6 separate regions of the Homo sapiens genome follow, and all the other regions are linked to region 5. Evidence: promoter capture Hi-C in human tissues and cell types (Jung and others, 2019). All regions are on one chromosome and are shown on one strand. Each heading gives the region's core, a stretch centred on a gene start or on the middle of the fragment in contact. The rest is flanking DNA. Distances are from core to core; before and after follow the strand shown.

Region 1 (3,075 bases), core at 121-2,620, 230 kb after region 5:
ATACACACATGCACACACATGAACATACACACATGCATACACATGCACACACACGCACACACACATGCACAGACATACACACATACACACATGCACACACACATGCAATACACACACGCACACATACACACACATGCACACATACATTATTTTCCATATATATTCCTTTCCATATTCTCTGCCAAAAAATGCAGGAAAAGTCATTGCCAAATTGTGTTAGGCTGTTCATTGGAAGGAAGCACAGCCTTTCTTGGGGTGGAAGCAGACAGGGGATGAGGCTCTTGGGGTCTGGCAAATCTTTCCAGTTAAGGCAGTTAGTTATTCATGGTCTGATCCAGGCAGTGCAAGTTCAAATTCTGGCCATGTCTGTACAGTTTCAAAAACAAAGCAAAGCAAAGCGAAAATGGTGATCAACTCCTTGTTTTCCAAAATTGTTCCTAGTGAGCGTGGATCTGAGCTTTGAGTATGCAGTTGGGCTTCAGGAAAGAATTGTTGAGATGTTGCTGGATCAGTTCTGCAAGCCAGTTGCCACTAGAGGAGTCTTTGTGATAACCTCTAGGAACATACAGCTTGGAAGAAACTTAATAAATATCGTCTGTGTTTACTTGAAGTTTACCCCTTTGTTTAGTCCCTAACCGTATGGAGACAGGTGAAAGTTTGGGCAGGACATAGGAGGCTGAACATAGACATGGTGTTGCTATGTTCCTGGCTTAACTCATAAATGGATAAAATAATGAAGTGAACAACTAGTTGAATCAGTTACTCCATAACTGTGAAAGTGCATTGAATTATGACAATACATGATATTATGCTTCTGCTGATGGAGTTATGGAATGGCTGTGGATTGAAATCCAAGTTATAACTTTATTTGAAGCATTAAGGGTAAATAATTTTAATTGGAAAAATTCGGAGCACAAATACTATCCAGTGAATTTGTTCGGCATACACACTCAGTAACTTTAGACCGAGATCCTTTCCTTCTTTGAAATTAGTATTAGAAACCTTTGGGCACAATTTAAAAGAACTCAGAAACCTTCTTTCCAGTTCTTTGGTACATTGTTATTTTTCTTAATTTATGTGGGGAGTATAGAGTATATTAATTAAAAGCTGCAATTGACTAGATCTAGACCAGCTGTCAGATCTTGGGAAAAGGTCACATCCAAAGCATTCTCCTTTGCTTTAAGCTTTAGACTCAATGCAGAAGCATGCAGGAGTGGGAAGGAAGATGAATCCATTCAAATCATCGAAATTTGAGTACCATTCTGCTCAGAATGTTTTAGCCAAATGAATGCATCTGGTTGTCATTGGCCAATGGGTTTGGTCCCAAGATAGGCTATACCCAAAAATAAGGCTATGCCACCAATGGCTGTTATACCAAAACACAGTGGGATTGTGTCCAGGAACTGAGCTCCTGGTGCCCCTCAAGCCAGCTTTGAAATGGCTCTGTGGTAACTGCTGTTGTCTAGGGCCCTTAGCTTATTAATGTTACAGGGTTGAGCACAACAAAGTCTCTATGCCTTTGCCAAGAGCAAGACGGTTGCTATGGGAGAGGCAGTCTGAGGAGAGGCTCCTAGCTCCTGCAGAATCTTCCAAGGGAAGGCTGATTAGATTTGACGTACCATTGTCCTCTAGAAACCTAATAAGATGCACATTTTTTTCCAGTAAGTGAGACAACTGTAGAATCCACATTTCATAGTTGTTCAAAAGGAGATTTCACACACACGAGTGAGTAAATTCATAACTAATAGCCCTTTGGGGGGAAAATTATATTTTCAATTACCATACTCACATGGTCTTTCACTTAATCTTGGACACTGTTGTTGGAACTGGGCTAGACGCCAGTTCTCAAAATAGCATAAATTGGAAATATTTAGGCAAGCCTTGTGATATACACTAGGTGTGTTTGGTTATTGTAACACATTTTCCTTTAGTGCTTTCAAAGTATGTATGATGGATTACGGGGTTTGAGATTATTATAGTAGGTGTCACTTCCCTTATACGACATAGCTGGGCTGGAGGTCACAGGAATCGGAACTCACTACTAGCAAAATCAGGTTATATATGACTAATTTGGGGATTGTGCTCAAAAATAACAAAACCTTTAAGTGGCCTAGAACGCATAAACATTTACTTCATCTGTAAAAGGGGGAGGGTTGATCTTTAAAGTTATTTGCAGCTCTAATATTGTATAACAGATAATTTTCAGCCCGTTAATTTCAGATTGTCTGTGAAACAGGGAAACTAATGACCACTACCTTGGGCATCAACCTGAGCATTGACATGAGGATTAAATGAATTAATGTATGAAAATTACCTACGTTGGTGCCTGGCTCAGGAAGTATTAGAGGCTGCGATTACTGTTTTTATTGGTATGTATTTTGAGACTTCCTTGAAACCAACACTACAGATCCTGCACTGTGTATTCTATCTGTAGTGCTTTACGTGCAGCCTGATAGAAAGCATACATTTCTTCCAATAATGTTGCTATTGCTCAGTTATCTCTGATTTGTCTCTAAAATGAAGACAATTGCAGATAGAATTAAATCAATTGAGAAGGGGTATATGAAATACTTTGTAAATAAAACAGGACAATTCAAATACAACAAAAAGTTTTGCGTTGGCTGTTGCTAGCACAGATACCCCCACATTGAAATCTCTCCAATATTCACTTGTTATAAAATGTAGGTTTTATTATTATTCAGGTATGGTGAGGCCAGCAGATCAGGAGACAAATGCCATTGAAAAGATAATTCGTGGCCAGGTGCGGTGGCTCACACCTGTAATCCTGGCACTTTGGGAGGCTGAGGTGGGCAGATCACCTGAGGTCAGGAGTTTGAGACCAGCCTGGCTAACATGGTGAAACCCATCTCTACTAAAAGTACAAAAATTAGCTGGGCGTGGTGGTGGGTGCCTGTAATTCCAGCTACTCAGGAGGCTAAGGCAAGAGAATCGCTTGAACCCAGGAGGCAGAGGTTGCAGTGAGCCGAGATCACACCATTGCACTCCAGCCTGGGCAACAAGAGTGAGACTCCGTCTCAAAAAAAGAAAAAAGGAAAGATAGTTTGTTACAGTTCC
Region 2 (3,137 bases), core at 15-2,514, 230 kb before region 5:
CATCTATTGCCTTGTTGGCATGATGTGAGAGAGGGGGAAAGAATAGTGGGAGATGACATTGGAGCAGTAAAAGCATGCACCCTGATTTTGCACATGTTGAGCCTGACAGTCTGCAACACTCTTTTTTTTTTTTTTTTTTTTTGAGACGGAGTCTTGCTCTGTCGCCCAGGCTGGAGTGCAGTGGCACAATCTTGGCTCACTGCTACCTCCACCTCCCGGATTCAAGTGGTTCTTCTGCCTCAGCCTCCAGAGTAGCTGGGACTACAGGCATGCGCTACCACACCTGGCTAATTTTTGTATTTTTAGTAGAGAGGGAGTTTCACCATATTGGCCACGTTGGTCTCAAACTCCTGACCTCGTGATCCGCCCGCCTTGGCCTCCCAAAGTGCTAGGATTACAGGCGTGAGCCACCACGCCTGGCCATTCTGCAGCACTCTTATAGCTATTCATATGGCTTTTTCTCTCATCTCTTTCAGTTCAGAGGACTGAAATTTCTTCTTCTCAGCAAGACCTTCCCTGACCACACCATATTTAAATTGCAGCCTTCTCCCTGCCAGTGGTACTCTCTACCCCTCTTATTTTCTTCCATAGTGCTGATTGCTGTCTGACCTGCTGTACTGTATGTTTCACTATTTTTTTTTTTTTGTTTAACTTTTGAGACAAGTTCTCACTCTGTCACTCAGGCTAGAGTGCAGTGGCATGATTACAACTCACTGTGTGGCCTTGACCTCCTAGGCTCAGTTGATCCTTCTGCTTCAGCCTCTCGAGTAGCTGAGACCACGGGCATGCGCCACCATGCCCAGCTAATTTTCTTGTTTTTTATAGAGATGGAGGGCTCACTATGTAACCCAGGCTGGTCTTGAACTCCTGGACTTAAGCAGTCTCCCCACCTCAGCCTCCCCAAGTGCTGGTATGACAGGCGTGAGCCACTGCACCTGGCCCTCTTTATTGGCTGTTTCCTTCTAGTAGGATATTTGCTGCATGAGGGAAAGGATTGCTGTCTGTTCTACTCCCTGCTGTATTCCCAGAGCAAAGACAGTGCCTAGTATATAGCAGACCTTCAGTAACTATTTGTTGAATGAATAAATGGATGTGTATGTATTCTAAAATAGTAACATAAAATGAGATGGTCAGTTTAGTTCTAAGAATACATTTAAAGAATAGTAGCATAAAAACACTATCCTAGTTATGTGAATACACAATGAGATAGAGTTGGGTATGTGTACGAGTTTTGGGGTAGGGGGAGAGGAGAGAGGTATTGGGGTAGTTTTTGGTATATTCTTAATATAAATATATTAATCTGTATATGTGACTGATTTTGGATTTGCTAATAACAGGCAAATTTTTAAAAACTATGTTCATGTCTCTTTATAATTCTGGGCTTTCAAATAATTCAGCATGTATAGTCTTATGAATACCTAATAACTTCTCTTCATATCAAAACACCTATCAGATTTATTCTTTGACTTTGCACAAAGCACTGTTGCTGTTCTTTAATATCTATCAGGAATCTACAATATACTAGACTCTTGACTAAAAGAACATACTGTGTTTTCTTATCTTGCAATTACTGTTTGTAGGCTAAGTTTTTGTCAGGAAAATTGGGATTCATCTTATTCATGGAGTTTTGTTCTCCCTAGACACAGGTGATGGGAGGGAATAATATTTGAGGTTGTTTGATTTTGCAGTAGGCACCACTAGCAACTTGACCCCTGCTCTATCTGACTGCCTTCTATTGCCCTTTTGGCCTGCAAGCCCTTGCCCAGATTCTTGGGCTGTTCCTTTTGGGAAAGTCACCACACAGCACAATGCCTTACCAAGAAAGCCGCAAGATTTCCCCAGCTCGGTTGGCTGTTCAGTGCCCCCATTTTCAGCCATGCCAGAAAGTGGAACGGAGGAATCTGAGGCAGTAATCATATCAGGAAATCAGCTTTTGGCAAGTAAGACAACAAATATGAAGAAAAAAGAAATATCCAGCACACAGCAAATCTTTAAATGTCTCCAGTTGCTGTCAGATAACCCATGTTAAAAGATTACTTTATGTCTTTCTGCATCCTTCTTCTTATTAATACATGTATTCACAGATATATAGATTGGGCACGGTGGCCCATGCCTGCAATCCCAGCACTTTGGGAAACCAAGGTGGGCAGATTACAAGGTCAGGAGTTCAAGACTCCTGTCTCTACTAAAAATACAAAATTAGCTGGGCGTGGTGGCAGGCACCTGTAGTCCCATCTACTTGGGAGGTTGATGCAGGAGAATTGCTTGAATCTGGGAGGCGGAGGTTGCAGTGAGCCGAGATTGTGCCACTGCGCTCCAGCCTGGGCGACAGAGCAAGACTCCGTCTCAAAAAAAAAAAAAAAAAAAATTTGTTTTTATGTAGAGAGAATTTGAAGCTTGTTTTTTTAATTTGAAAGCATAAAATAGTAGATATAGCTTGATTTCTTTGCTTTTTTTCAAAATGTCTTTATTTAAATGGGATCCTGTAATTTTACCTACATGAAATATGTGCTTTTCAAAAAAAAAAGTTGGTTTTTTGGTTTATTATTATTTTATTCTGTGCCACTCCTCTCCTCTGTCATTGTCCCATCTCTATCCCTTGATGCTTGTAAATTACCTGATAGGTATCCTTTTGTGATTTTCTCCATATCTGTATATCTGTATCTGTTCACATCTGGAACATTTCAACTGGTATTTTTGAGGAGCTCTCACCTCACTGAGAATAAGACAAAAGAAATTTAAACCTATAAGTAGTTTGTAAAAAATTCAGGGAATGATCTGTAAGGTAATTTATGACCAGGTGCTACTTTGTATAATGCCCATCATATGGAAGAGTTAGGGAAGGCAGAGGTCAGGTGGGGAGTCATAGGGCTTCTGAAAGGTGCACAGTTTGGATGAGCAACAGGATTAATAGGGATTACAGAGTAATAATGTTCATAGTTTACTAAACAAAGCAGAAATAGTGAGCTATTCTGCATATAAAAATGATACTAAAGGATCTTTTGAGATTCTTACTTCCCAAAACAGTCTTGAATCTTCTCTTTTAGAATCACCAGCAAGCTAATTTGATATAATGAAGGAAAAGTAAAGCAGAATAAAGATAATGTTTTGTGGGAGAGGTGGCACTTGAGTCCCTG
Region 3 (3,341 bases), core at 308-2,807, 180 kb before region 5:
CAGGGTAGTGCCATTCCAGATTTATGATTTTTATTTTCTTTTGGGCCTTCCTGGCCTTGGCAGTCTCTTTTTTTCTATGTCCAGTTAATTCTTGTCATTCATCTCATTGGGTGTTTTCAAACTTCCCCAACTCTTCTCTGGTTTACGTTACAACCCCCATTTCCTACTCAATTATCTCCTCTCATTTACTTGGAAAAATAGGGACAATAGGCCGGACTTCTGGTAGACTTTGTGCCCTTGTATGTATCTCTGTGCGCATACTGCTGTGGTCTCTCAGCCTCCTTCCCTGCAGTCGCCAAGGAAGAGGTCTTTCTCTTGTAGTTCCCCACTAATCCTTCCACCTGCGTGCCTGATTATGTCCTTCCTGCTTCCTTTGAGCCCTAATTCTATCAGTTACTCCCTTTCCTGTATTTTTATCCTTTTCATCCCTACTGGCTCCTAGAAAATATGCTCAAGTTTCTGCTTTTTATTTATTTTATTTAACAAAAGCTTTCTCCAACTCTAACTTTTTTTATTGCCAGGTTTCTACCCAGAGTAGACTATATTTGCAACATCCACTTCACAAATTAGCTGGAACTGCCCATACCAAAGCCACCGACTGCAATTTAAATTGCTGTCTTACCTACTCCTCCATTAATGACACAGCTCAAGCCCTCACCTAGAACACTGCAGATGTTTCTTGACTCATCCTCCCTGTCTTCAGTCTTCCTTTTTCCAATTCATCTTTCCCACCACTGCAGGGTGATCTTTTAAAATACTCTTATGACAATATTACTCCTCTGTCCTTAAATCCCTTCAAAAAATCAACATTACCCACAAGTTGAAAAATTAAACTCCATAGAAGGGCATATGAAGCCACTAATGGTTTGATCTCTGGCTCTCCAGTTTTATCTGCTCCTGGTCTGTTATTGAGTCCTACCTATAGATCCAAAAGTAAGGTGCTATTTCACACTTCTAAGACTTTTCTATTCAGTGTCCTCTAGTGGAGTAGTATTTCCTTGTATCCCTAGAGATCTCCTCCTTAACTTTCAAAGACTGTGATCCAGCATCCTCACCAGGCTTTACCTGACTTCTTTTCCCATCTTCTATTCCTTCTGAACCTATTAATATTATACTACCATGATAAAGTTGACCTTTTCTTGGTGTTTTTACTATACAGTTTATGGATATTGCCATTTTTTTGTACAATTTATTGTAGATATTTGTTTTGAATGTTTGCCTCCCTTTCTAGACAGATCTCATTGTTGGGTAAGGAGCCATTTAACCGATCTTGACATCTGCCACACCTGGCATAGTGCCTTGCACATAACAAGGGCTCCTAAATGTTTGTAGAATGAGTGAATTTTAGCAAATATTAATTGGTTGTTCTTCTATAAGATCAGCATTATACTTTTAAATTTAGATAATAAGTTTTGGATTGGATGTGTTTAGTATCACTGAACTTAGTGCTGGATGCTGTGTCATACAGTTTCAAGGCAATCTAAAGAATAGGGAAGATAAATTTGTAGCTAGTGACTTAATAAGATGGTCTGTACGAATATGTAGGTCTTTTGTTCATATTGTCAAGTGTACCAGCTCATCCATGCATTCCTTTTTTAGTCAAATTGTACTAAACAGAGAAAAGATTTCCTGAGATGTATGATCCTTTTTCTCCTTGGCTTCTAATCTATCTTTCCTTCATTGCCATATAGCTGCCAGAGGACTTCATATACAATGAAAATCTGATGATTTACTTTTCTCTTTATACCTCTTCAGTTCTTCTTTCCATTCACCTATATTCTCATCACTTTGTCTCCTACTTTACCAAATTTGAAGTCTTGTTATTGAGTAGACTTCTTTTGAGAGTTTGTGGTCACTTACAGAACTGCTCTGCATCCCCTTTGTACCTGCAGCTGATAACACTCACTATTCCCTACTCCAAGCATGTGGGTTCAACAGGATAAACATAACAGCACATTGGTAATGTTTATGTTAAATAAGCCAGTCTTGTCCAAGCATCTGCTGCACAGGCGCAGAAACAGATAAGTTGTTTCAGCAATTGGCTGCCAGGGGAACAGAAGGGTTGCCACAACAAAGTCAGCAAACAACCCCCAAAAGTCTCTAAGAAGTGTGAACTCATGCTGCTGGAAAATAAAAATCAGTCAAAAATTTGTACATTTTGATGCTTGACCTTGACTTTGTTTCTCACATCCCTATGTAGAGATAGGACTATTTTCTGCAGCAATTGGGTTATCTTTAGATGAGTACATTTCAGATTCACTCAGCTTTTGAAGGAAAGTGTATTTGAAATCTCCCTGTTCTCTGGAAAGTTGCTTTGTCGTATAGTTGGATTGTACTCCCTTTGGAAGCTTTGTCTTTTTGACTGACTTTGATAAGGTCAGCTCCAAGGAAACCCAGCATCCTCTTTTCCCTGGCGCCACTGGGCCCGCCACCCTCTCCTCTGCTTCCTCACCCTCCCTTCCTTACCACCTCTCTATCCGTCACTTGAACTGGCTGCCAGCGTTCACAGACAGCTGGGGAGAGAGTGGCTAAATCTGCCCAGCTGCCCGGGAAGCTTGGCAGCCAGGCTGAGGGAAGGAAGCATCGGCTCTCTTTGAAGGTCGGCTGCCAGTGAATCTCAGGCAGCTGGACTTCAAAGGGGGGCACCGCCGGGCTTTCCCTCCCGTCTAGGCAGGTCATTCCACGGCGCTGTGCTTCCGGTGTTGGCATGGTGGCTTTCCTCTTCAATTAAAAGCTGAATTGGGATCTGCACTTGTGTTCACACTTGTGTTTCTTATGTGACATAGACAGCCTAAGATCCCCAACTCCTGTTACCCCAGACTTAGGAGTTAAAGATAAAGAAGAAAAGGTGATATCATATAAAGGGCAACTAAGGAGATCTACAGCAGCGAGTGTGTTTTCCTTATTGCCAGTTAGTAACTGTGCTATTTGCCAAGTTTTAAATTACTTTAGGGACTCTTGGTGTGATCTTGAATAAAGGCCAATCAGCTTGTGCTTATGGACTCAGTTTAGCTATGGCCTGAGATTGGGTCTAGCAACGGATGATAATTTTATCTGTTTTCAGAAACTGTGGTAGTGCTAATAGAACCCACTATTCTACACCTAACTCTTGCTTTACTTCCCTACTTTTCACATTCAGATTCCGTTGGTGGTTGGTGACAGGACTGGCCTAGCAAGGGAAGAACAAGGGTGCTGCACAAACAGAGTCTAGGCTCACTTTAGTTGCAAATGAGGGTCAGAGCAGAGGTAGCCTGAAATCAGAGGAACCATGAGTACTATGTACCATGTATAGTGGTCGTTAAGTGTGCAGATCCTGGGACACACTGCTTGGGTTCAAATCC
Region 4 (3,233 bases), core at 4-2,503, 140 kb after region 5:
AAAGGTGTTTCTGATGTAACAGTCTATAGACAGATGAGCAGTCCAGAGTGGAGAGGTGGCTCTGCTCTCTAAGTTTAGCCAGGAACTAGATTTCTTTTGTTTTGTGGTTCTGCCATGCCTTAGGTTGTTGTCCTTATCTCCCTTGTTGAAGCTGGCTCACCATTTTGTTTACTTTGCAGCCTTTAGGAAGGGGGAAACAGCAAGTGGAGAAGAAGCTTCCTTTTTAATGACATGACCTGGAAGTTGCAAATATGTCTTCAACTCATATCCAATTGGCGAGAGCCTAGCTGCAAGAGAAGCTGGAAACATCTCTAGCTGTGTGGCCATATTCTGGGGCTTCTGCACTTTCTTTTATGAGAAGGAATGAGATTGGAACTATAAGGCCTGATAAAATTTGGAAGTTATCATTTATTTAACAATCACCAGGTACCGAGGGCCTGCTGTTTTCCTCATAGTCTTATAGTCCAGTTGGAAAGATAGACAATTAAATAGAAATTTAAAATAAAGTGTGAAGATGTTGTATTGGGGAAACAAAGTACTGTAAGAACACAGGGCAGGAGAACCTAACCTAGTCTAGCGACAAAAGGATCTGCAAGACCTTCCTGGGGGCATTGATGCTACGCTGAGAATTCTGTGGAAGGTATTGTTTGGGTAAACAGTGGAAATTTTCAAAGGGTGGGGATCAGAGACAATGTGTTTTCTAAGAAATCTTCCAAAGACAGAAGTCATTTTACATGGCTGCTGCAAGAAATCTTACCCCAAGGCAGGAGCAAAGGGAAAGCTATGTAGAATTTATCGAGAAAGGAAGAAGGATTACTGAGCTGGAAAGAAATTTTCTTGGCACCAGTCTTATAGCAAAGTATAGAGTCATGATGAGCCCCAGATTCTGGTCATCTACAGTGATTTGAAACATGGACGTGGTTATTGTTTGGCCACAAGCACCAATAAATCGATCAAGCTTTTCAACAAGAATTAGAATATTCCTATAATTATCCATTAATCACGTCTTTTGGAAAGGTAGGAAGTGGTAGGGATCACATCTGTTTGGTTGTTTGGCAACAAAGTATTAGCTCTCCTAGTGTTTATCTGGTGTTTACTAAAAAAAATGTTGTAAGTTTGAGTCATGATGAAATCTATTTTATTTGGAGAGTTGCTTTTGAGAATGGATAGCAAATTGTCCCAGGGAAAAAACATGATCAGGAAAAAAATATCGTAAGATAATGTTTGGGTAGGAGTAGAGGAACTTACTTGAATGTTTCTTGCTAGTTTGGAACAAAACATCTAATCTTTTCCTACTTTGAAACAGGATATCTCCCTTTTGGTGTAAATATTTTATTAGGTTTTGGTTAAAGGATGGATTCTGAGCTACCACATAATTTTAATTTGACTTTTCTTTCTTTCTTTTTTTTTTTTTGAGACGGAGTCTCTCTCTGTCACCCAGGCTGGAGTGCAGTGGCGCGATCTTGGCTTGCTGCAAGCTCCGCCTCCCGGGTTCACGCCATTCTCCTGCCTCAGCCTCCTGAGTAGCTGGGACTACAGGCACCCGCCACTGCGCCCAACTAATTTTTTGTATTTTTAGTAGAGACGGGGTTTCACCGTGGTCTCGATCTCCTGACCTTTCTTAAGATTATTCATGTACAAGCACTTATTGAGTACCTGTCATGGTTAAGTGCTGCTAGGTATTGCTGGGAGTGGCAGGCCCTGGGTGTTGCTAGACACTAGGTGTTAAGGCTCTGATGTTGAAAAATGTAAGCCCGGTTCAGACAAAATAGAGACAGTGCTGGAAATTGAAGCACATTACACTTCAGCTTTACTTCTGAAATGCTGTATGTCTTTGGCTAGTTATTCATCTTTTCTCCTGTAAAATTCCTTCTGTATAATAAGAATGATCATAGTATTGTCCTTTCCCTTTTCCCGCTTCATTTCTACCCTGTGGCCAAATTCCACCATTTCCAGTTCTATCACTGTAGCTAGGATATCTTTCATATTGGACAAAACCAAGTATAAAACACCAAGAGTTTCCATTCTAAGACTGTTTTGAGAAGAATGACTCAAAGTATTTAATGGAAGGAGAGGTAGCTTCTTCATCACAGACCTTTTATAATTTTTTTTTTTTTGAGACGGAGACTTACTCTGTTGCCCAGGCTGGAGTGTGTAGTGGCGTGATCGTGGCTAACTGCAAACTTCACCTCCTGGGTTCAAGCAATTCTCCTGCCTCAGCCTCTGGAGTAGCTGGGACTACAGGCGCCCGCCATCATGCCTGGCTAATTTTTGTATTTTTGGTAGGGACAAGGTTTCACTATGTTGGCCAGGCTGGCCTTGAACTCCTGACCTCAGATGATCTACCTGCCTTGGCCTCCCAAAGTGCTGGGATTACAGGCGTGAGCCACCACACCCTGCTGGTTACTGTGTTTTTTTGTTTGTTTGTTTGTTTGAACGGAGTTTCGCTGCGTTGCCCAGGCTGGAGTGCAGTGGCGTGATCTTGGCTCACTGCAGCCTCTGCCCACTGGGTTCAAGCAATTCTCCTACCTCAGCCTCCCAAGTAGCTGGAATTACAGGTGCCCACCACCACACCCAGCTAGACCCTTCACGTTTTTACTCAAAAGATATCAACTTAGGTATCTCTTGGAGTTCAGTGTCAAACTGAGGCCATTTCCATTGTCACACACATCAGACACATACTAAGTAGAAGAATGGAATGTAGGAAGGTAATTTCTCCCAGCATCTGACAGGAGTAGTGACATGGAGTGGGTCTTAATGTTCATGATGATTATATGCTAGGCACTGTGTTGCATCTATTACCCAATTTTGTATAATGAACCACCCAACAGTCAAGCATTATTATTCCTATTATGTGGATGAGGAGGTTGAGGGCCAGAGAGTCTATGTACCAGCTGATCAAGTGCAGAGCAGGATCCAAACCCACATTTCCACATCTCCCAACTCCAATGACCATGCTGCCTCTCCTTAAAGTGTTTGTCCTCGAACCATTGAAATTCAGACACCTCATTAGCTTGGTTGGGTTAGCCCTGTTCCTTTTAGGAATTCAGGGTGGGTAAATTTAGGAATTTGGATGAGTAAACTTCTCCAAGGCTGGGGCAAAAAGAGACAGATTGAGCTGAGAAAGGAAGTTGGCTGGAATACTATTGCTTAAGCTGCCGTCTTACTGGCAAGAACAGACCACTTTTGTTTAGCAAAATGATTGGAGTTCACCACCCTGTCTTTTCTTTAGA
Region 5 (3,083 bases), core at 215-2,714:
GTCCTGGCGGCGGATTCTACCAAAGCCGAAACTAGCTGGGCCCCAGGAAGCTGGCGGGAACCCGCGAAAGTCCGTTTCCAGCCCGAAGAGGGTTCGTTTTTCTTCGTTGGGGCAGGAAACAAACCACCAGTGCGGAATTAGCCTCGAGGTGGTGTAAAGTAGTGGCAGTGGTGGTGGGGTGTTTTTGGAAGGCGGCACAGAGTACAGGAGAAAAAGGGGTCATTAAAATAATAACCTCAATGGCCTAGTGGAGTCTCAAGAATACGTTCGAGACAGAGATTTGAATCCAGGACTGGCAAGAAAGCCCCTCTCCTAACCTCGACGGGGATGGTTAGTTGGGGTGGAGGGCGTTAGGAACGTGCAGGCAACCGGGTGAGGAATGTAGCTTTGCCAGACCTCGCCCGGAGGAGGTGAGCCCTCCATTTTTAGGTTCTCAGCACCTTTGCAGCAGCCCCTCCCCCGGCCTGCGCTTTTCCTTGGCACAGATCAAAACAAGCTCAATAGTAAGTTGCACTCTTGGCAATGATAGTATCTCTGCACGTCCAGAGAGGACACATTTCGACGGCGGTGGGTTCGAAGATGACCCAAGCCCTGAATCGTTCTGTGACTTGACGGAAGAGCACCTGGCCGAGTCGGGGAAGGAAACTGCCCCTCTTGGGCATTCCGGGTCCAGGCGCATCTGGGGCTCCACAGATCTTTGCCCACGTGGAAAAGGCAACATGCCCCTCCGAAAGGCCGGCCTCTCTCCGGTTCTACTTTTCTCTCTCCTCGCATAGCTTAGGTTCCCTCTAGTCTTTCCACTTTCTACTCTCACCGTTTGCTCTGGGGTCCAGACGCACCCCTCTGACTAGGGCGCCCTTCAGCCGGCCGCACCCACCCGCGACGCAGGCACCACCCGCTCCCTGCTCCCCGGCCCGCTCCCTCACTTACCTCGGATCGGGTCTCCGCAGACCCTAGGTTGGACATTAACTCCAGGTGCCCCAAGTCCCAGCCAGGAGACCCATCCGGGCTGATGGCTGGAGCGCGGAGCCCCGCCCAACAGGTCAGGGGCAAGAGTTCGCAATCCTGGGGTCGCGCGGGGCAGCAAGGGCGCGCTGGAGGCGGCGGCCAAGACTCCCGCCGCCGCCGCCGCCAACAGGGCGAGGGCTGCCGGCAACTCTCCCGCCGGGCCCCCGCACCCCCAGAAGCCGAGGTCCGAGCAGCCGCCGCTGCTTTGGGTGGGGGGCTGACAGGGCTGCGCGCGTCGCGCTCTTGGCTGGGGCTGCGCGGGCCCGGGGCGCTGCGGGCGGCTCAGCGGCAGCTGCCGCGCTCTGCGCCTCCTCTGGGCGCACTGCCTGGGAGCACGAGACTGGTTTGTCTGATGCTGCTGCCGGAGCTGAGGTCTTGCCTGGAGATCCGAACGAGACACCACGTCAACCGGCGCGGGGAGTCCCGTGAAGACATGAGGGCGCCAGGAGCGCAGGCTGGTCTTCTAGAGCCCGGGCTGGGGGTCCGGGGTCCGGGGTGGGGGAGGGGAGGCGCGGGGCCCCGGGAGGGAGGGGTCGGGAGGCGTCGGCTGGGCCTGGCGGTGGGGGAGGAGAGGAGAGCAGCGAGGAGGCCCTGGAGTTCCCGAGGCGGGGGGCCGGGGTGCGAGTGGGCGACGCGAGGCGCCCCTCCCTGGGCTGCAGGGAGAGCGCTGAGAGCGCGGAGACGCCGCGGGGCTAGCGCCTTCTCCTCTCCGGGTGGATCAAAAATCGAGAGGAATGTGCGGCGCTCTGCGCGGGCCAGCCGAAAGGGGCAATCCGAACTTGACCGCGGCGCCCGCGCCGGGCTTTGCCCCCGCGCGCCGCACTGGGAGGGTGGCGCTCTGCCGGTGCAGGGCAGCGCCGGGCTTTCCTCGCGCCTGTCGAAGGCCGGCCTTCCCGCTCGGGTGTCTCGCCCTCTCGCTTCTCCGCAGGGCAGGAGGCAGTGGCGAGAAAAGGAGCTGCCGGCCGGAGTTCTAGCACCGAGAAGGAGAGGTGCGGAGCGGCCGGGTGAGGGAAGCCGAGTATTTGCCAGGGGACGCTGCGAGTGGGGATGAATTTATAGGGCTCTCACTCCGTGACGTGCCCTCCAGTGGCTTTTCTGATTCGCTTTCTGACCTAAACACACATTAGTTTAGTCCCCATGCTAAGGCCAACACGGTCTCCAAATATCTGCTGGCTGAAGTCAGAGGCTTTGCATATCATGTATTACATGGCAGGCAATGAAGAAGGCTTCTGAGGCTGGCCGGCTCCTCAGTCCTAGGCTCCATTTTCATGCTGTTGTAATCTAATACCAGACATGGGGCAGGCACATACATTCAAAATCCCAATTCCAGAGGCGTAAGATCACTTTATCAGGAACGGGTTAGGGGAGGTTGAGCTAAACCTGCTTTTATCCAGATTTTCGAAAATGCAGATGGGAAACTTCAGCAAGCGCCCACTTGGATGCTGAGTTTCCAGCGATCAGGGGCCCGGCCCCCATTCCAGAGCTCTGTGGATGGGAGAGGTGAGACCTTCTGGGCATTCCTTTTGTTGGTTAGTTCACCACCAGAAGCTGCCTGAGCCTTCTTTTGTAGAGGACAGGAGGAGGGCAAGTCCTTACACACCCTGTGCATGGCTATAACCATAAATACATTTCATTCACATGGGGCATGGAATTGGCTGTACCTCTAAAATAATGTACTAAATAGGGCATGTCTTTGCTAAGCAGAAACCTGTTTTCCGGAAGCCATTGGACCTGAATTCAGTGGGACCTCTTTTATTTTATTAGCTGGGGCCAGGGAAAGTGTAAACAGGCTCAGTTTACGTCCATGTACCTCTTATTTTATGACTCATCCGGTTGTTGGGGAGTATGTGTTCTTCAAGTAGCTGATACAGACAATAGGCAGGGGAAATGCGTGTGGCAGTGTGGGGGGAAGATCATGTATTATTAAACTTCTTAAAAGTCAAAGATCAGCTACTTTGCAGGTTTGTCAGTGAAGCGAGTGTGGGAGGAAAATTGTTCTTACTAACGTTGCTGTGATTTAAGATTAAGCGAAGTGAAAATCGAGTCATCAAAACATACCTTAGCTGAAATTAGGA
Region 6 (3,438 bases), core at 346-2,845, 190 kb after region 5:
AGATCTGGGAGGAGTGGAATTACATTTATGGTCTGTTTGTTTTCTTTTTCTTACTTTTCTGAATTTTTATACAGTGAGTATATGTGTGTATGTGTGTGTGTATTTTAAGTTTTTGTTTACAAAAGAGATAAGTACATATGTTTGTTTTTTTAAAAAATCAAGCTATAAAGAAGTGTATAGAGTAAAATACATAAGTTTTTTTTATTCATCCTCTAACCACACTCTGCTTTCTAGAGATCATAATTGGTTTGTGTGTAAATTTCCAGACCTTTTCTCTGTTTTACCTGTGTAATTGTTAACATCATATTGAAAGCATGAGATTCCATACAGTACAGGTAGAAAACAGTTTCCCCTTGCTGTCTCTATAACTATAATATGCAGATTCATTCTCACACTCTTGGACAATCATGTAGAATAACAACTCTTCCAGTCCCTTCAAGTCCCACCCATCACCCCAGGCACTCTGGCTCTTGGTGCATCTAGTGGGTTCCCGCGGCTTGTGGGCAGCCGCTGACAGATGCAGGTGCTGGCTGGGGAGAGTAAAAGCTTGCCCTCCACCCAGTAGGTGTGTGTGTGTGAATGTGATCAAGAGATAGGAAGGTTATGGGTGGAGTGTTGTCAACCTCTCTACAGGTGGGGCCCTTTTCAAGACCATCCTGGCTGGCTCCCTTGCATATGGCCTAAGGGCAAGACTGATGCACTCTGGCTCCTGCTGCTGGGAGATGTGCAGTCTGCTGCACTGCAGCTCTCTCAGTACCTGGGCCTGTCTGCTGCACTGCAGCTCTCTCAGTGCCTGGGCCTCCGCACGCAATTTGCAGCCTCTTGCTAGTAGACGATCTTTGGTCTTGAATCAAGTGCCAGTCTACACTTGGCAGACTCCAGCATTCAGGGAGATCTCCTTGAAACCTCTCTTACTTAGAAAGAGGTAAAGGTGGAAACACCACCACACCCTGAAAAATCATTCCAAAGGAATTCTTTCAGCATTTTCAGTTTCAGTCCTTTTATAGCCTTGAGGCGAGTGATGGGCTAATGGTTGCAGTTGTCTCCTTTGCAAGTCCTGTCTAGGTGGTCTAGAAACTCATTTTAAAATGTGAGACCACTAATTGCCTCTTGCTTTGTTCTGGGTCTTCTGGGGCCTTAGACAAAGCTGAAAAAGAGTCTCCTTTTCACATTTTGTTATAGACCTAGGTAAATCATTGTTTTTCCATAAGTTGGAACATATTAATATTCTGTAAGTTGCTGTCTTAATTGTCAATATATCAGTCTTTTCATATCGGAAGATGTTGAACTGTCTCATTCTTTTTAATGGCAGTGTATTGGGTAGATAAACTAGTCCATTGGGTAGGTAAACCAGAGTTTATGTAACCATTTCTCTTTTGATAGGCTAATTCTAATTTTTGGCTTTTACAAGTAATGCCACTATAAATAATTTTTAAATTCACATGAGTGTGTCTGTGTGTGTGTCTGTGTGTGTGTGTGTGTGTGTGTGTATATACATGAAGTGTAGCCAAAGGTAGGTACTAGAAAAATTTTGCTAGATACTACCAAAGTGACTCCAGGAGAGTTGTATGAATTTCTGCTTTCTTCAGCAGTGCTTAAGAGTGAACATTTCCCCACACCCTCACTACATATTTTCATTGTTTTTAATCTTTGCCGTTTTAGAGGCTAACAGTGACCTTGTTATTTTATTCTATTATTTTCTTGATTACTAATAAGGTGAGATATTTTTTCTCACTTTTGTCCATTTGTATCTGTGCTCCGTGAATTGCCTATCACATATCCTTCATCCAGTTTGGGGTTCTGGGTCTTTCTCAGCACCTTGTAGTTTAAATAAGGAGAAGATGTCAAAATAATGAAGCAAAGACAGATTGTAGTGACTTGCTGAGAACCCTGGTCCCACTCCATGGGGACAAGAAATGGTGGAAGTTCTACGGCTCAGACTATATCACTTGTTCCCCTCAAAACTGTTTGCAAGTCTGAATCTGAAACATAGGCTAAGTCTTCTCTTCCTTCAAACTGACAAATATACTTTTATTAATAAAATTTTAGCCAATTCCTTGTATTTGACTGAGAGCGTGTACAAACTTATTTTGAATCTGAAGCCTAATGGGTTGTATTTATGCCTCTTTGTCTCTTCTTAATTCTACACATATTAAAAATTACTAAAGCCATATTGGATTTCAAGAAAAAAACCAAAGGAGATTTTTCAGAGCACCTAGCAGCCATGGCAACATGCCTTTACAAGGGGCATGTACTCTGTTAAAAAATATTCCACTTACAGGTAATGACAGACATTTGCCAAACAGCCCCAAGCTAACCCAAGAAAGAATGGGCAGATGGTTTGAGGTGTGTCAGGAATAGGATTTACAAAATAAGATTATGGTTATGCTGGAAAGTAACAGCAATGGTTGTAAACAAATGGAACAGACCTACTTTTTGCCACGGGGCAGAGGAAGAAAGGGGTTTTGCATTGCTGCTTGTGAACTAGTGTTGGCTCACTTAGATACACAGCTCTCTGGGATTTTATGTATGTTGTTAGGCACTTGTATAAGACACATGACTGGGCCTCCAATTGAGTTTCTTCTGATCTGAAGCAGGGAAACTTCATTCTAGTTCTAGAAGCCCCTGCTGGTGTTGGCCCTGTCTTGGTTGTGTCTGGCAAATGAATCTGCATCCTTCTCCACGTGAATTTAACTATCATACCAGTTACGAACTATCAGTTGAGAAGACACTGGAGAGAACCAGCCTGTTTATTCCTGAATGTATATTTTTGACTGTGGGAATTAGAGTTATAACAGAGGAAGGTACAGAACACCTCCCAATATGATTGATCTATTTGCTCATCAGCCCAAATCCTGGACCTTGAAGTGGTAATGAATGAGTCTGCCTCTGCCCTGAATTTAAAAATCTCAGCTCTCTCTTTTCCAATTAAATTAAGATTTAGAAAGATAGTGCTTCCTCTCTTGGGAGAATTTGGGCATTTTCCAAGGGAAAAGAGAGAGGGTTGTCAAAGGGGATTTGTTGACAATGACATGAGAAGAAGGTGATGACAAAGAAAGACTGAAGGTCTCAGACTTTGGGATGGGGTCGAAGCTCTCTCACCTGGTTAGGAACTGTCACCATGCAAGTGAAGGGTGGAATTTGGCTTTTAGAATATATTTCCATTAGCTCTGGAGTTTGACAGCTAGCTCCCAATGGCAGCAAAGCATGTGAGGCCTCCAAGTTGGCAAGGCTGATCTCTGACTAATGGGGAAAAATTACCCAATTAGAATTAGCAATCTTGCATCACTGATCAGAATCCTTACATTACCCTTCATGTGGGGGAAAAGAACGAGACCTTCAAAAGGAGTTGGACTGGTTTTAACATGGCCTGTTGGTCACTGAGACAGGAAATATTTAACATGGATTAGATGCATTTGGAATTTGTTTGACTTGTCT

Evidence for each region. Contacts are between HindIII fragments. The study calls those that stand out against the background at their distance.
Region 1: a contact is called between a fragment that was not itself captured here and the fragment with the promoter of GDNF in region 5, in 2 of the 25 tissues and cell types used here (H1 embryonic stem cells and IMR-90 fibroblasts).
Region 2: a fragment that was not itself captured here is called in contact with the fragment with the promoter of GDNF in region 5 in 1 of the 25 tissues and cell types used here (IMR-90 fibroblasts).
Region 3: a contact is called between a fragment that was not itself captured here and the fragment with the promoter of GDNF in region 5, in 1 of the 25 tissues and cell types used here (IMR-90 fibroblasts).
Region 4: a fragment that was not itself captured here is called in contact with the fragment with the promoter of GDNF in region 5 in 1 of the 25 tissues and cell types used here (mesenchymal stem cells).
Region 6: a contact is called between a fragment that was not itself captured here and the fragment with the promoter of GDNF in region 5, in 1 of the 25 tissues and cell types used here (IMR-90 fibroblasts).

What each region holds. Positions count from the first base shown.
Region 1 is chr5:38,070,482-38,073,556 of GRCh38, forward strand. The region is part of intron 2 of LINC02107 (long intergenic non-protein coding RNA 2107); the gene reads left to right. Among named protein-coding and RNA genes, the nearest start is that of LINC02107, 46 kb to the left of the region's middle. The HindIII fragment of the contact is 4,321 bases long and covers 1-3,075 here.
Region 2 is chr5:37,607,918-37,611,054 of GRCh38, forward strand. All of the region lies in intron 10 of WDR70 (WD repeat domain 70), which reads left to right. Among named protein-coding and RNA genes, the nearest start is that of WDR70, 230 kb to the left of the region's middle. The HindIII fragment of the contact is 4,194 bases long and covers 1-3,137 here.
Region 3 is chr5:37,663,467-37,666,807 of GRCh38, forward strand. All of the region lies in intron 10 of WDR70 (WD repeat domain 70), which reads left to right. Among named protein-coding and RNA genes, the nearest start is that of GDNF-AS1, 170 kb to the right of the region's middle. RefSeq lists a silencer at 2,301-2,595. The HindIII fragment of the contact is 3,863 bases long and covers 1-3,341 here.
Region 4 is chr5:37,980,549-37,983,781 of GRCh38, forward strand. No RefSeq gene overlaps it. Among named protein-coding and RNA genes, the nearest start is that of LINC02110, 34 kb to the left of the region's middle. The HindIII fragment of the contact is 3,548 bases long and covers 1-3,027 here.
Region 5 is chr5:37,838,577-37,841,659 of GRCh38, forward strand. It overlaps GDNF (glial cell derived neurotrophic factor), which reads right to left and starts at 1,465. Exons shown (of 3, transcript NM_000514.4): 1 at 931-1,465. GDNF-AS1 (GDNF antisense RNA 1) reads left to right here and starts at 1,308. Exons shown (of 4, transcript NR_145476.1): 1 at 1,308-1,462. RefSeq lists an enhancer at 389-1,326. The HindIII fragment of the contact is 15,271 bases long and covers 1-3,083 here.
Region 6 is chr5:38,029,060-38,032,497 of GRCh38, forward strand. The region is part of intron 2 of LINC02107 (long intergenic non-protein coding RNA 2107); the gene reads left to right. Among named protein-coding and RNA genes, the nearest start is that of LINC02107, 5.1 kb to the left of the region's middle. The HindIII fragment of the contact is 3,779 bases long and covers 1-3,438 here.